Linked DNA regions of Homo sapiens: region 1 is linked to region 2. The links are contacts of gene promoters, found by promoter capture Hi-C in blood cells and fetal thymus (Javierre and others, 2016). All regions are on one chromosome and are shown on one strand. Each heading gives the region's core, a stretch centred on a gene start or on the middle of the fragment in contact. The rest is flanking DNA. Distances are from core to core; before and after follow the strand shown. Region 1 holds the start of LOC124903576 (a long non-coding RNA gene). Region 2 holds the start of GABRA5 (gamma-aminobutyric acid type A receptor subunit alpha5).

The links. Contacts are between HindIII fragments. The CHiCAGO score rates a contact against its expected background, and 5 or more counts as called.
Region 1: a contact is called between a fragment that was not itself captured here and the fragment with the promoter of GABRA5 in region 2, in 2 of 17 cell types (M2 macrophages and M0 macrophages). The highest score is 7.4, in M2 macrophages.

Annotation. Positions count from the first base shown.
Region 1 is chr15:23,625,813-23,632,981 of GRCh38, forward strand. It overlaps LOC124903576 (a long non-coding RNA gene), which reads left to right and starts at 1,814. Exons shown (of 2, transcript XR_007064789.1): 1 at 1,814-3,305; 2 at 4,144-4,263. RefSeq lists an enhancer at 2,981-3,502. The HindIII fragment of the contact is 1,024 bases long and covers 3,166-4,189 here.
Region 2 is chr15:26,865,803-26,873,014 of GRCh38, forward strand. It overlaps GABRA5 (gamma-aminobutyric acid type A receptor subunit alpha5), which reads left to right and starts at 1,260. Exons shown (of 11, transcript NM_000810.4): 1 at 1,260-1,309; 2 at 2,927-2,991; 3 at 3,373-3,532. The coding sequence starts at 3,447. The HindIII fragment of the contact is 16,322 bases long and covers 1-7,212 here.

The DNA.
Region 1 (7,169 bases), core at 2,428-4,927, 3.2 Mb before region 2:
ATGTTGTATCTGTGTTTTCATTAGTTTCAAAAAATGTCTTGATTTTTGCCATAATTTTATTGTTTACCCAAATTCAGTAGTAGATTTTTTAATTTCCATGTAATCGTGTGATTTTGAGAGATCTTCTTGGTATTGATTTCTATTTTTACCGTACTGTGTCTGACCATGTGGTTGGGATGATTTCATTTATTTTGAATTTGTTGCGAATTGCTTTGTGGCTGAGTGTGTGAGTGATTATAGAGTGTATATGCCATGGGCAGCTGAGAAAAATGTATATTCTGTTGTTGTTATGTTAGGTCTATTTGGCCAAGTGTCGAGTTTTAGGTCCTGAATAACTTTGTGAGTTTTCTGCTTCTATAATCTATCTAATACTGTCAGTGGGGCGTTGACATCTCCCATTATTATTGTATGGATATCTAATTGTCTTCTCAGGTCTCTAACAAAATGTTTTTTTAATCTGGATGTTCCAGTGTTGGTTGCATATATATTTAGGACAATTAAATCTTCTCATTGAATTGAACTCTTTATTATTATGTAATGCCCTTCTTTGTGTTTCATGATCATTGCTGTTTTAAAGACTGTTTTATCTGAAAGAAGAATAGCAACCCTGCCCCTTTTTTGTTTTCCATTTGCTTTATAGATTTTTCTTCATGCTGAATCAGAGTCTACTTTCTATAAGAGTCATTCTAAACTGACTGTGACTAGGTGCTTATTCTGCTATCATCTCCCACTGTATTCAAATAACTCACCCTTGGTCCTAGAATTATCTACAAGTGTCCAGAATCATTGGATACAAACAAGGAAGGACAGATAAGCATAAGATGCTCAATGGCTGATGGGTTGACTTCTCCCAAGAGAAAGTTCCAGGAGAAACAGACCTGAGCACTGAGTCAGGATCCTGCTATAAAAATGATTTGTGCTGTAAAAGAACATCCATTTGTATCCTACCATCAACCTCAGCTTTAACCTCACCTCTCGAGATCAAATTTTATCCATTCCGTTCTTTCTTCCATCAGCATGTTCTCTTCACCTCTTAGGACCATTTTAAAACTAACTCTGTAAGTGTGAAACAGAATATTTCTTTTCACTGTCTTTTCCGTTATCAAGTTTTACTCTTTGGAGTCAGAGTTCTGGTTGCTCCTTCAAAGTAGGTGACTCATGTCTGCAAGTGGTCTGACCCTCAGAGTACACATGGGAAGAGGGAGAGGAAAAATGTGAAACACCCAGATAAATATTTCAACGTATCATCAAGCCACATGTCCTTTCTTGGTTCAGTATTGAAATGTACAGAAACATACTTCTTATTTCAGGGACTCCATTTCTATCCCATCTTACCTGAAAAGGTGGCAACTAAAATTCTATCCCATGTATTTGCTCTTCTGGAATACTAATTCCCACTTGCTTCACAGACACATCATCAAGTACCAGCAAGATTCCGTAATTCCTGTGAGTCCATAACGGTAATGTGCCTCCTTTTCGTTTCCAAACGAGAATTCTCATTATGGTTATTTTTTGCTTCCCCCTATTGGCTGTTTGAAACATAACTTATCTTTTTAGTTCCTGGGTCCCTGACCTTGACAAACCACGGCAGAACTTGGTGGAGAAGGCTGAGTATAATTCTGAAATCCTGAACTTTGAGCTGGATTCAATACGTAGGTGAATTTTGGATTGTCTCCTCTAGGGAGAGTGTGTTCAACATTTAAAAGGAAGTGTAAAGTGGATATTTGATAAACACAAGGGCTACCATGGCAGAGGAGAACGCTGTGATCGCATCAAATCCTGTTTTCTCTTGGGCACACAGCTGCCCCACATATACCATCCCTAGCTGCAGTTAGTTGAGGTCATGTGACTGAATTCCAACTAATATAGGTAGAAATAAAGTACTCCACTCCCAAATACAGTTTATAAAAATCTCTGACATAATCCTCCACACTCTTTTACTTTCTCTGACAGGTGAACGGCATGGATTCTGAGAACCAGGAAGAGAGCCAAGTCATAAAAGGATCGGTGCCCGAGTGAGTCCTTGAATGGTTCATGGAACAGAACTTCTCAGTCTTCACTCCCCTTTACCCATACTGAAGTTTACATGATTAATATAATGTAATATATAACTAAGCCACTGAGATTTGCGAGTTTCTTTGATTGCAGCTGGTGTTTAATTTCTGAGTAACTAAGAAGGAATACATTTTTGAGGACATGGTATTTGGTCTGCAACCACCCATGGTTTTAGAGAAGAAGCAACCCATGTAGGTATGTGGGCACCAATTATTCCAGTTAGACAAACAACACACCCAAAGCCCAAAGTCTGGGAGAATGTGTTTAAGAAACAACACACAACGACGACAAAAAATAATATAGCTGGTTTCTAGTGAATGGAGAGGAGAGTGGTAGGAAATGAAGTTTAAGAGGAGTGTGGAGACCAGATCCCACAGGACTGTGTAAACAGTGAAAAGGAGTTCACATTTCATTATAATTGTGATGAAACCTCATTGGAAAATTTTAAGCAGAGAAAATCCATGATCTTACTATGATACACAGGTCTTTAAAAGATTGAGTTACTCTTTGTTGAATGAATTTTAAGAATCCAGAGAGGATGACAAGGGACCAGTTAGGAGATAATAATCTTCCAGGCAAGACATGTTAGTGACTTAAACAAGATTTATTACAATGGAAAGAGGAAAAATTGATATATCCCACTGAATCATTCAATTAATCAGGTCTAAAAAATATGGATTATACATTTATGTAATAATTATATTAAGATCTGTTGTGAGTCACTTAGGATAATGGCAAAAATATTAAAGGGAATATTAGGGAAAGTTATAGGAAATAATCACAAATCTTTTGAAAGGCCAAAAGCTTAAATAGCTTGTAATAATTGAACAGGCTAAAGGCAGCCGGTTCTTACCTTAGAGCACTAGGTCATAGGGTAAATACTAGGAACAATAGAGGATTCCCCAGTTACTTCTGTTTACCCTACCTCCATTAACTAATCTTTAAGCCAAATGGCCCTCTGGGTGGTTGTGGGTGGGGGTAGGGGCGGGGAGGTCAACTAGGGAAATTGCCCCCTAATGGTATTTACTTTAAACCGTAGTACCTAAGTTTTAATCATTTGTAAAACTACTTTCTTAACCATGTTAATTATCCTCAAGTGTGTTTACTCAAAGCTTCTGTTGTTCATTGTATACTAAATAAATGCCTGAAGTGCAAGCTGCTCAGGACCAGCCGCAGTGACAAACCTCTCCTGGTGTGCAGGCAGTCGGACGCTCAGCTGGACTGGCGAAACAAAGTATCTGTATGTCAATGTACGTTTTATTCATCCGTCTTTTGGGTCAGGGTCTGCGGGCAAACCCCCGCAGCTAATGCCCTCTGGTAAGACGCCATACCTCAACTGGTGCCCCGTGTAAGGTGCAATACCACAAAGATACAATACAATTGTTACATTAGCAAAACATATGGGTCATGAATTATGTTATGTTCAGGACAGTTGTAGACAGTCTGCAGGGAGGTCTAGTTTTAGCTTTTTTAGACTTAGTGTAAATTTAGTGAAGCCTGTAGTTGTTCACAGTAACAGAAAATACAAAAAACTGTTGGTTGATCTAGTGGCCACTAGATGGCCCGATAAACTCTACTTCATAGACCTCGGAGCTAGACACTGAAGTGACTGCAGTTTGTTGCTGAAAACTATATAGTGTAAAAAGCCTTTGTTGTTGTTATTGTGAATGGAAAATAATTATCAACATTATACAAATTAAACAGGTTCATATCGGAGAGGCTCTGCTATAGAGTCCTACAAAATGGAATTGAATATAATTTCTCTGATATAGAAAAACACTCATTTTAGAATGAAAAATAGTGATATGCATGTGTGTAAAATGTGTAATCTTAGTCTCAGGCTTCAGTTTCGTAATTTTAGATCACTTCCCTCTTTTTCATGAGAAAAGCTCCTAGACACTCCTATTTGGGAATTGTATAAATAGTGAATAATATAATGAAGAAAAAAGTCTAAAACAAGGACTTGCTGTACACTATCTACAGGTGTCTTGAACATGTTATATAAGGTATTCTTTTGCTTATTTATGAGTTTGGTTATTTGTTTTTATTTGCTGAATTGTAAGAGTTCTTTGTGTATTTTGGATACAGGTCCTTTATCAGATATGTGACGTGCAAATATATCCTCCAAGGTTGAAGCTTGTTTCTTCATTCCCTCAAGAGTTAATTTCACAGAGGGAAACATAATTTTAATAAAGTCCAATTTATCAATTTTTTTGTGGGTTGTATTTTTTATCATATCTAAAAATTTGTCAACAAACTCAAAGCCATGAAAATTTATCCCATATTTTCCTCTAAGAGTTTTGTACTTTTGCATTTTATATTTAGTTCTATAATCCACTTTGAGTCACTTTTTGTGTAAGATGTGAGATCTGTGTCAAAGTTCACTTTTTGAATACGGACATCCAATTTTTCCACCATCATTTGTTAAAAAAGTATTCTTTCACCACTGAATTGCCTTTGCACCTTTGCCACAAATCCATTGACAATATTTGTGTTCATTCATTAATGAGTTTTCTATTCTACTCCATTGATCTATGTGGCTACTCTTTCACCAATGTCATGCGGTCTTGATTTTAGAGGGAAAGCATTCTTTCTCTAGTCATTTAGAATAAAATTAGCTGCAAACTTTTCATATAAACCCTTTATTAGGTTAAGGAAGATCCCTGCTATTTCTAGTTTTCAAGACTGTATATCATGAATGGGTGTTGAATTTTGTTGAATATATCTTCTACATCTATTGACATGATCATATTTTTTCTTATTTATACTGTTAATAGGATAAATTATATACATCAGTATTTATAAATGTTGAATCAGCCTTGCCTTCCTGGAATGAACCCCATTTGGTCACATTATATTGTTCCTCTTATATATTGCTGGATATGATTTGTTAAAATATGTTAGGGAGATTTGTGTCTCAATTAATCAGAGGTATTTCTCCATAGTCTCCTTTTTTGGTAATGTCTTTATCTGGTTTTGGTTAATGCTAGCTTCATAAATGAATCAGGTAGTGTTCATATGAATATGCTAGCTTCATAAAATGAGTTAAGCAGTATTCCAACCTCAAACTTTCCAGAAAAAAAAGTGTTAATTTGTACTATTTCTTTTTAAAAATTTGGTAGAGGCTGGGTTGTGGTGGCTCACGCCTGTAATCCCAGCACTTTGGGAGGCCGAGGTGGGTGGATCACGAGGTCAGGAGATCGAGACCATCCTGGCTAACACAGTGAAACCCCGTCTCTAATAAAAATAAATACAAAAAATTAGCCGGGCATGGTGGCAGGCGCCTGTAGTCCCAGCTACTCGGGAGGCTGAGGCAGAAGAATGGCATGAACCCGGGAGGCGGAGCTTGCAGTGAGCCGAGATCGCGCCACTGCACTCCAGCCTGGGCGACACAGAGAGACTCCATCTCAAAAAAATATATATATATATTTGGTAGAATTCACCAGTGAAAGCATCGGGGGCTGGTGTTTTAGGTAGCTATTTCTCCTTGAGTGAGTTTTGGCAGTTGGTGTCTTTCAAAGAATTGCCTCATTTCATCTAGGTCATCAAGTTTATGACACAAGAAGGCTGGAGTGACGCTGGACTGGGTGCACTTCCCTCCCCCAAGATGGGATGAGATTTCGGTATTCCTGTCTAAAGCGAGCTCTTAGGGCTTCCTCCAGCCTAGGGTGCCCAGTGGCTTTTTCTCTGTGTCTTACATGCTGTATCTCCCTGGAGTAACCTTCTCTCTGGATTTCAGGGTGGCAGGTTGCCCTGTAACCTTAGTTCCCTGATGGGTTTAAAAAAAATCCTGTGTGCATGCTTACACCTGCTGCAACCATGAAGCCTCTGAGTCCCAAATACCATGTAAGAAAACAAGGGCTGAAAGTAAATAGTGATTCAGAAGTGAATCAAGTTTCATTGTAATTTATGGTCGTTGGTTATTGTAATATGTTTCTGCACGGTATTTTGCATTCAAAAAATTTCTATTTGAGTAAAATTGACTAGGGAGATGAGGTATTCCATCTCATGTTTGTCTTGAGGTTACTTGGAGCCTCCCCAGCACCCACCTGACCTGGGGACTCTACCAAAAGTCAAAGAAGCGGTGCTGGTGCATGAAACCAGGAATCTATGGCTACTTGGAGGAGAAACACGTAACTTGTTGCCCAAATCAGACTGCGGAATGCTTGGGATCAATTCAGATGCTTGTAGCTATAAGTAAAATACAACCCAACTAAAATTACTTTTTAAATGCCCTACAGGTAGGCCATTCCAGGATTTCTTGATACAGTGGCTCAACCGGATCACTGAAGCCATGGGTGGTTTCTGCCTTTGTTCCTGAGATTTTTGGTGATGTTTCTTTCACGACTGTGTGCTTACTAGGGCAGTTCCCGGAATCCCATGCAGATATTAGAGCGTCAGTGCTGAAGACAAACTATTTTCAAATCTCTCTCTCTTTTTTTTTTAGTGGAGTCTCGCTCTGTCACCCAGGCTGGAGTGTAGTGGCTGGCACAATCTCGGCTCGCTGCAACCTCCGCCTTTCAGGTTCAAGCGATTTTCCTGCCTCAGCCTCCCCAGTAGCTGAGGTTATAGGCATCTGCTACCACGCTTGGAAAATTTTTTGTATTTTTAGTAGAGACGAGATTTCACCATGTTGGCCAGACTGGTCTCGAACTCCTGACTTGACTTCAGGTGATCTGCCCATCTCGGCCTCCCAAAGTGCTGGGATTACAGGCGTGAGCCACCATGCCTGGCCGTCTCTTTTTAAAACAATGCTTTTATTATGGAGGAAAATATCCACAAACCCTTCCGACTAGATTTTGCCACATGTGCATGAATGGAGGGTGATACTTGAATTTATTATGATTAAGCTGACCCTGGATGAAGGAAGGGATTTATGATTAATGAATAAATTGGAGAGTAAACATCCTTACAAATCAAGTCTCTATCAGCAAAGAAGGAGACTGGATCAAGTGGGAAGAGTGGAAATGGGAAGCAATAGAGAATGCTACACACACTTAATGCTTTTTTTTTTTTTTTTTTTGAGACAGAGTCTTGCTCTATTGCCCAGACGGGAGTACAGCGGCGTGTGGCGCCATCTCAGCTCACTGCAACCTCCGTTTACTGGGTTCCAG
Region 2 (7,212 bases), core at 10-2,509:
TTCATTCATATTTCCTGAAGAACCACTGGAAACAGTTATTTAATAGTGTGGCTAAATGTATATTCAGAGAAACACTTCCTGTATATTTGCACATTTATGTATATTTATGTCCTATTCCTGGAATAGATTTACAAGTTTTGTTTTTCAGAAAATTTCAGAATTTCTGGAATGTGCAGAAGTATTAACAGGTAACTTAGATTTGGAATACACTGTATTAGAGATAACTGGAAAAATGAGAGGCTTCCTACACTGGAAGGTCAAAGATCTTTCCTGGAGGGGAGTTAGGAATTTGCCTTTACTTACCATTATTCTGTTAAAAGAGATTATGAATAATGCAGTTTCACAAAAGGAATGGGACAATGGTGTAAGTAAACCTCCCCATCACGTTTTCAGTGGCTTTCCTTTGAGTCTTGAACGTTTTCCACTGGGTGTTATAGTCGAGAGTCCCCCACCTCCTGAGGAAGCAAGACCTGGCAAACCCAAGACGATGCGCTCTTACTTGTGTTGTTTGAAGGGGCCCTGCTGCCGCGCAGTTGTCATTAATGCCACCCTCACCTCCCAGGAACTGCACCACTAGGACGGACGACACACCGACGTAATGACCATAGTAAGACCCCATGTACGTGGCTAATGAGGCAGTGACCCGACGTGGCTCGGAAGCCCTGCTGGGGAGATCCCGCCCCGTCACCCCAGAGGCGCTCTCCGACCTGCAGCCCCCAGGGCTCCTGGCCCTTTCCCGTTTGCCACTGCGGCTTGTTGTCAAGAAATGGAACTTCAGAAAACCCCCAGATATACACTGCGTTAGGTAAGGATTTCATTCTAATCGAGTCCAATGTGACCCTGGCTTTCCCTCCCGTAGTTATGCATTCCTGTCTATGAGTGAGATGAAAAGAATGTCCACAGGCCAGCTTCTTTCAGAAGCGCCTAAGAGATGCGCATGTAAGGGGTGCCATGGAGCACCCGGGAAGGACCCAGGCCTGGGCAGGGAGGCGTTGGGGCCGGCTCTAGGGAGCAAAGCTGTCGGAGTCCAGGCCTCTATCACCCGACTGCTGACACTGCCCTCCCATCCCTGCTCTACAAGCGGGCGGTGGTGACTACACGAGGCGCCGAAGATGCTGTTGAGGGCCCTGGAGAAACTTCAGCAGAACAGGGCCTCTCCCCTTGCAGGCCGAGCCGGGGGCCCTGCGCCCTCCCCCTCCGCCCAGCTCGGCCAAGGGCGCATTTGCTGAGCGTCTGGCGGCCTCTACCGGAGCACCTCTGCAGAGGGCCGATCCTCCAGCCCAGAGACGACATGTGGCGCTCGGGCGAGGTGAGAGCGGGCGCGAGTGCGCCGGGGGCGCTGGGGGGCTCTGCGGCGGGCGGCGCGCGGCCCGGGGCGCGGCGCGGAGCGGAGCTGCAGGGCGGCGGCGGGAGCGCGGGGCGCAAGAGCCGCTCCGCCGGGAGTGCCGGGGAAGTTCGCGCTGGCAGCATGGGGCGGTGACGCCGCACCGGCCTTCCGCGCCTGCCAGCCGGGCGAGAGCAGGCGGAGGAGAAGGAGGATGCATCCTCACCGACGGCTCGCCTCCCGGGGCCGGCGCGCAGGGTGAGCCCTGGGCGCGCTGGGCCGGGGCAGTGGGGTAAGAGGACGCGAGCGGGGAAGAGGACCGGCCGCCCCGGCTCGGTCCGCACCCTTCTCCTCGGGGCGCCTGAGCGGCAGGCTGCGTGGCCGGGGAGGAGAGGTGCAGAGCAGGCGGGGCGCGCAGCCAGGCCAGAGCGCAAACTTTACCCTGGCGACTGCGGGGCTGAAGCCGGGCGCGGGAGAGAGCGGGGTCCGGGCGGCTCATCCCTGCCGGACGGGGCACCAGGGCGCGGTGACCGGTTGGGGGTGGGGGACACCCGTTGCCACCATCACGGGAGCCGGAGGGGTGAGATCGCCCACCTGGAAAGCCAGCGTCAGCCCCGGGGCTCTGAGGCGCGCGGCGTCCCGGCGCTGCTCGCGGGGTGGACTCGGACCCCGCGGGGGTGTCGCGCGCGTGTCGCGCGGGCTGCTCGAGGCCAGGGGACTTGGAGTCGCTGCTGCACCGCGCGCTCCCAGCCCAGGAGGAAGGCGCTGCCTGGCGGAGCGCTTGGCTCGTACCCGGGGCAGGAGCAGGGGAAGTCTGCGAAAGCCGGGAGCGAGCCGGGGAGGGCCGGGGAGCTGGAGACCCTCGGCGTGCCGCTGCGGACCGCGCGGGTGGCGACCGCGGGTGCCAGGGCGACCCAGGCTGCGGCTCCGCAGTGCAGCCCCCGCGCCCACCTGCCCTGGCGCGCCGGCCCTGGTGAGCCTCTGTGGGGGTCCGGAGGGTCGTGGGAGCGCAGCCTCTCCTGGGGGTCCCTGGCTCGGGGCTGAGGGGCGGCGGGAGGCGCCGCCCGGGTTTCCCGCATGCAGCGCCGCGTGCTCGCCGCCTGGCTCTGGCCCGGGCCCCGCGACGAGCCCCCCGGACGCGCCCAGGCGACCACCGCATGGCACCCTGCCCTTCTTGGCAGGAGTCGCAGAAGGCCTTCGCTTCCGAGGTGGAAGTACCTGTTGTGTCTCCCAATTCCGGAGTTTGCGGGGGATGGGGGTTGGGGGGGCTTCTTGGGAAAATGCTTCTTTTCGAAGCATACTGTTCGGATGCCTGTGAGCACCTATTTGCGTTATGCGCATACTGAGAAATGCGTGTTTTCAGGAAGGTTAGTCGTTGAGCCCAGGGACAATGTCTGCCTGGATCTCAAATACATTAATTAGGGTCCAGCATTGAGTGGAGAGACTTCCACAGATGCAGTGCTTAAGTTATGTAGTCACGGGGACCGAATGCCGGGAAAGTAGCCACACTCTTTTATAGGCAGTTGTCACAGTATTGTGATCCTGCAGAAAACCTGTTTCTTAAATGTGCTTTTCCCCACTTCTTTCCACGTACTTTCTCAGTGCCTTGCAGAGAGAGGAGTAGCTTGCTGGCTTTGAACGCGTGGCGTGGCAGATATTTCAGAAAGGTAAAATTACTACACTTGTGGATTTGACGGATACAAAATACAGTCGCTCAGATAACTACAGCGTTTATTTTAATAATTGGACTAATGGTTTATTTGATAACATGCTAAAAAACAAAACAGAGTATTTGAGTGGAAAACAACGAATTAGGGTGATTCTGCACCCTGAGTAGAAGTAAAAATAAGCCTCTTGTTACTTATTTTTATGCTCCAACTTACTGCCCAGTGAGGGTGATGGAAAATACCTGGTGTGCAGCTGTCCTGGGGAAGGACAGCGGGCTCCTTTCTTTGCAAATTGTTGTGATAGCAGTGTGATTTGATTCCAGGAACTGTGACACAACAGCATTGATGTTCACGTGCTTCCCCGCTTTGTGTGCTTTTCAGCTTCAAGAACAAGCTGGAGAAGGGAAGAGTTATTCCTCCATATTCACCTGCTTCAACTACTATTCTTATTGGGAATGGACAATGGAATGTTCTCTGGTTTTATCATGATCAAAAACCTCCTTCTCTTTTGTATTTCCATGAACTTATCCAGTCACTTTGGGTAAGTTACCATCTGTGCTTTTATTTTATGATGTTAGGGACACTGGTGCCTTTCAGACATGTTACGGGAGCAGCACATCCATTGAGCAAGTCCTCGCCTGCCACCATTGCAGTCCCAAGCCCTTCACTTGTTGTAAATAAATGAAGTCATTGCCCTGACCCACGCTTTCTTCCTGAGCAAGGCTGCTCCTCACGTGGGGTCTCTGAAGTGAGTCAGAGAAAAAAAGGCAGATTATGTTTTCAGAAATGGAAGCTGAAGATGATATCCGAGTCAGCTGTGATTCTTCCTACTCAGGTTAAAACAAGATTCAGGAGTTCACATGCATGAAGGACAGTCACTGCTTGTTAGACAAGGCAGTGCCAACATTTCAGTTGCCCTCCACGGTTCCATTATGCAATCAAAGTTGCCTTGAAAGCCAGGCCTATGCTACTTGGCATTGAAAAGGACTCACAATGGTCCTGGCCTGAGCCAAGGCCCTAGAACTGTGACCATCTGAATGCAGGTGCAGACACCATAAACCACAGGTGCCTGAAGATCTGAAAGACACCCCTGAGGTTCTGGCACTATCATTTCCAGTAACCCCTCTTTCATTTTAGCCTTTAGTATCCGCATACCAACTCTAACCTTTTTTTTCATGAAACTAGTGATAACCCACATCGTGGATGAATGTTCTTATGAGGCTGCTGTTCCTGTTCTGACCCGTGCCCTAGAATTGTTCTGGTTAATCAAAAGGATTGTAACTTGAAGTTGATGGCATATAATTAAGAAATTAAATGTCAGGACAAAAGTTGCCAAGCGTTAGTGCTGCAAAAATGGGGTCCAGAGGTTTCACAGCCTATCCACATTTATGTAAATAATCACAGGATGGGGAATATCCAGTGGCTTGGCAACAGCCTGTAGACAGCCTTCCCATCTGGGGGGAAAGAAGACATCCCCAGGGCCATGATGTTTTCTGTCTGTCCTCTGTACATTTTCTGCTCTTCTGACTCTTCTGTGCAGAGGAAGGGGTGGGTGTGGGGGCCTTGCTCAGGTGCAGTGGCTGGTAGAAGACAGCATTGGGACTTTAGTCCACATCCACCCCGGGGCAAGCCTGAGCCATCAGCTGAGACTTTGTCCAGCAGAGCTGAGCTAAGGAAGATGCCTGTCCCTCACCAACAGAAGCCAGGCAGTGTGTGCACTCTAACCACACTGACGGGAACAGGTGTGTGGCATGTCTCAGCCCTTTGAGCCATTCTAAGTATTCCCTTGGGAAAGAGCATTGGCCGTGGCTCTTGCCTTGCTTATCTTGAGTGGATGCCTCCCTTCCCATGCCTTCAGATTTTTTTTTATCTATTAAATGAATGTTTTCCTTTACAAGTTCTCTGCAGCTGCCAAAGCCTGTAAACTAGCATGTTCACAATGTTCTTCTGAATGAAATGTCTGTACATAAGTGAAATCGCACAGAATATTCAAATTTGTCATCTAATGCATTAGGTAGTTGGTTTGTTTGATATACCGCATATATTTGGTAGCATTTTGGTGGTGAAGAATATATCAGGATTGGAAACTTATATTTTCTTTAAAATATCTTGGCTAGGCCAGGCGTGATGGCTCATGCTTGTAATCCCAGCACTTTGGGAGGCCAAGCGGGGGGCGGATCGCCTGAGGTCAGGAGTTCGAGATCAGCCTGGCTGACATGGTGAAACCCCATCTCTATTAAAAATACAAAGATTAGCCAGGCCTGGTGGCACATGCCTGTAATCCCAGCCACTTGGGAGGCTGAGGCAGGAGAATCGCTTGAACCCGGGAGGTGGAGGTTGCTGTGAGCTGAGATCATGCCACTGCACTCCAGCTTGGGCGACAGAGCAAGACTTTGTCTCAAAAACAAAACAAAACAAAACAAAACAAACAAAGAAACAAAATCTTAGCCAAATGTATTATGAATTTGCATTGAATAAGCATGAAATGGTTTCACTCCCTGGTAGATGCAGGTCTGAAATAGGAAGTAATGTGTGTAAGTAGTTTAGCCCCAAGAAGCAGGTATGCTTTCTTATTTAGTTCTGTAGCTTGCTGAGGTCATCTTCAAAATAGAGGGGTATCTTAGTCTCTGAAAGCTAACACTGAGTAAGTGGTAAAATACCCCTCAAACTTTCCAGAAAATTAACTGTTGGAGCAGTTTTTAATCTTTTAGGTATATGGCCAGTAATCCATCATAAAACAGCACCGACTAATTGCAGCAAATATGTGCGATACAGAAGTCGATAATGAAAGGAATCTCTTTAATTCCACCACCCAGAGACAACCATGCTTCCCATTTGGTGCACTGACTTCCCCTTGCTTCTGTGCATGTTTTTTATACAGTTGGGATCAGGCTGTGCAGTTTGGTACTGTGCTTTTTTCCTACCCAATACATGATCACAATTTCTTTAAAATGTATTATTTTAAATGGCTGCATATTTGACAGGGCAAGAGCGCCTTGTGTTAGCTTCTTCCCTAATTGGGGATGTTTACGTAGTGAATGATTTTGCTGTTATAAATTTTCCTGTAGTGAACGTATTTGGCTTACAAGTTTTCTTAGGTATTTGAGATTATTTATATTAGAAGATATTTTTGTAAGAGGAATTTTACATCAGGTTCTTTGAGCACTTTTCACTCTTGACCCTGCGCGCCCAATTGCTTTTGAAGAAGTGGGGTTTCTAGCAAAGCGGGAAGCCAGGTTCACACATTCTGGCCAGCAGGGCATGTTTTTCAACAGCCACAAAAGACATCATAAAATACATCAAGCCCCTATTTATTTCCCTTCCTATAGGAGACTCCTCTCACTTGTATATTATCTAAATGGACTTAAGAATAATTGTGTCAAATCCCGATTGAAATTTCCTAATATTTAGTTAACTTTAAATCTTGAAAAAATAGCTACCACAACGTGGAGCACCTGTCTTTATGTTTCGTGTTTTGGTTTTGGATGAATCCTAGGAGCCACTGTATGAGCTGAGCACCGTTAGCCCATCTTCTAGCTGGGAAGGAGGGAGGATGAATGCCTAACCTCAGAAGTCAGGAGTCCTTACTCGGAGCTTCCTGTGTGACTCCGCCCCCTGTCACTTCTTGGGCTCCCTGACTTGAATGCACACATTTTGCAGGGTAGCCCTGGATCAAACCAGTCTAGACAAGAGGGAACGTAATTCTAAAAGGTAGTACCTGCTTCAGAGTGGAGAGAGTTTTCAGTACTTGGGGATTAGCGGGAAAAAAGAGTCTGGGTCAACTCAGTTTATTTTCCCTCCAAAGAAAGAGTTTATGTGATTGGGTTCAAAAGAAAGGGGAAAGGAGAAGCATCAAAGGGTTTAATTTGAACCTGATTCTAGGACAAGAGAAGTGCTGACTCCTGAGAGGCCAGAGAACTGGCAGTGGGTGAGGAGGACTATAGAGAATCAGGCAGGGAAGAAGAAGGAAAAAGAAAAAGAGCAGGGCTATGTGCGTGGACCAAGTCGAAATGCAGTGTTTGTGAAACGTGTGTGGCACTGGCAGTTGGAAAATTTATAGATGTGATAAGTGCAATGTACTTGGTGATTATATAGGATAACTGATATGAAATTGCTTTGAAAATACATGAGTGTTCTTCTCCTTCTCTTGATCATATTCTAAATTTGATTGGAGTCACCAGCAGCTCATTTGCAATAGTCTTCCTAATTCTTCTGTTAGTT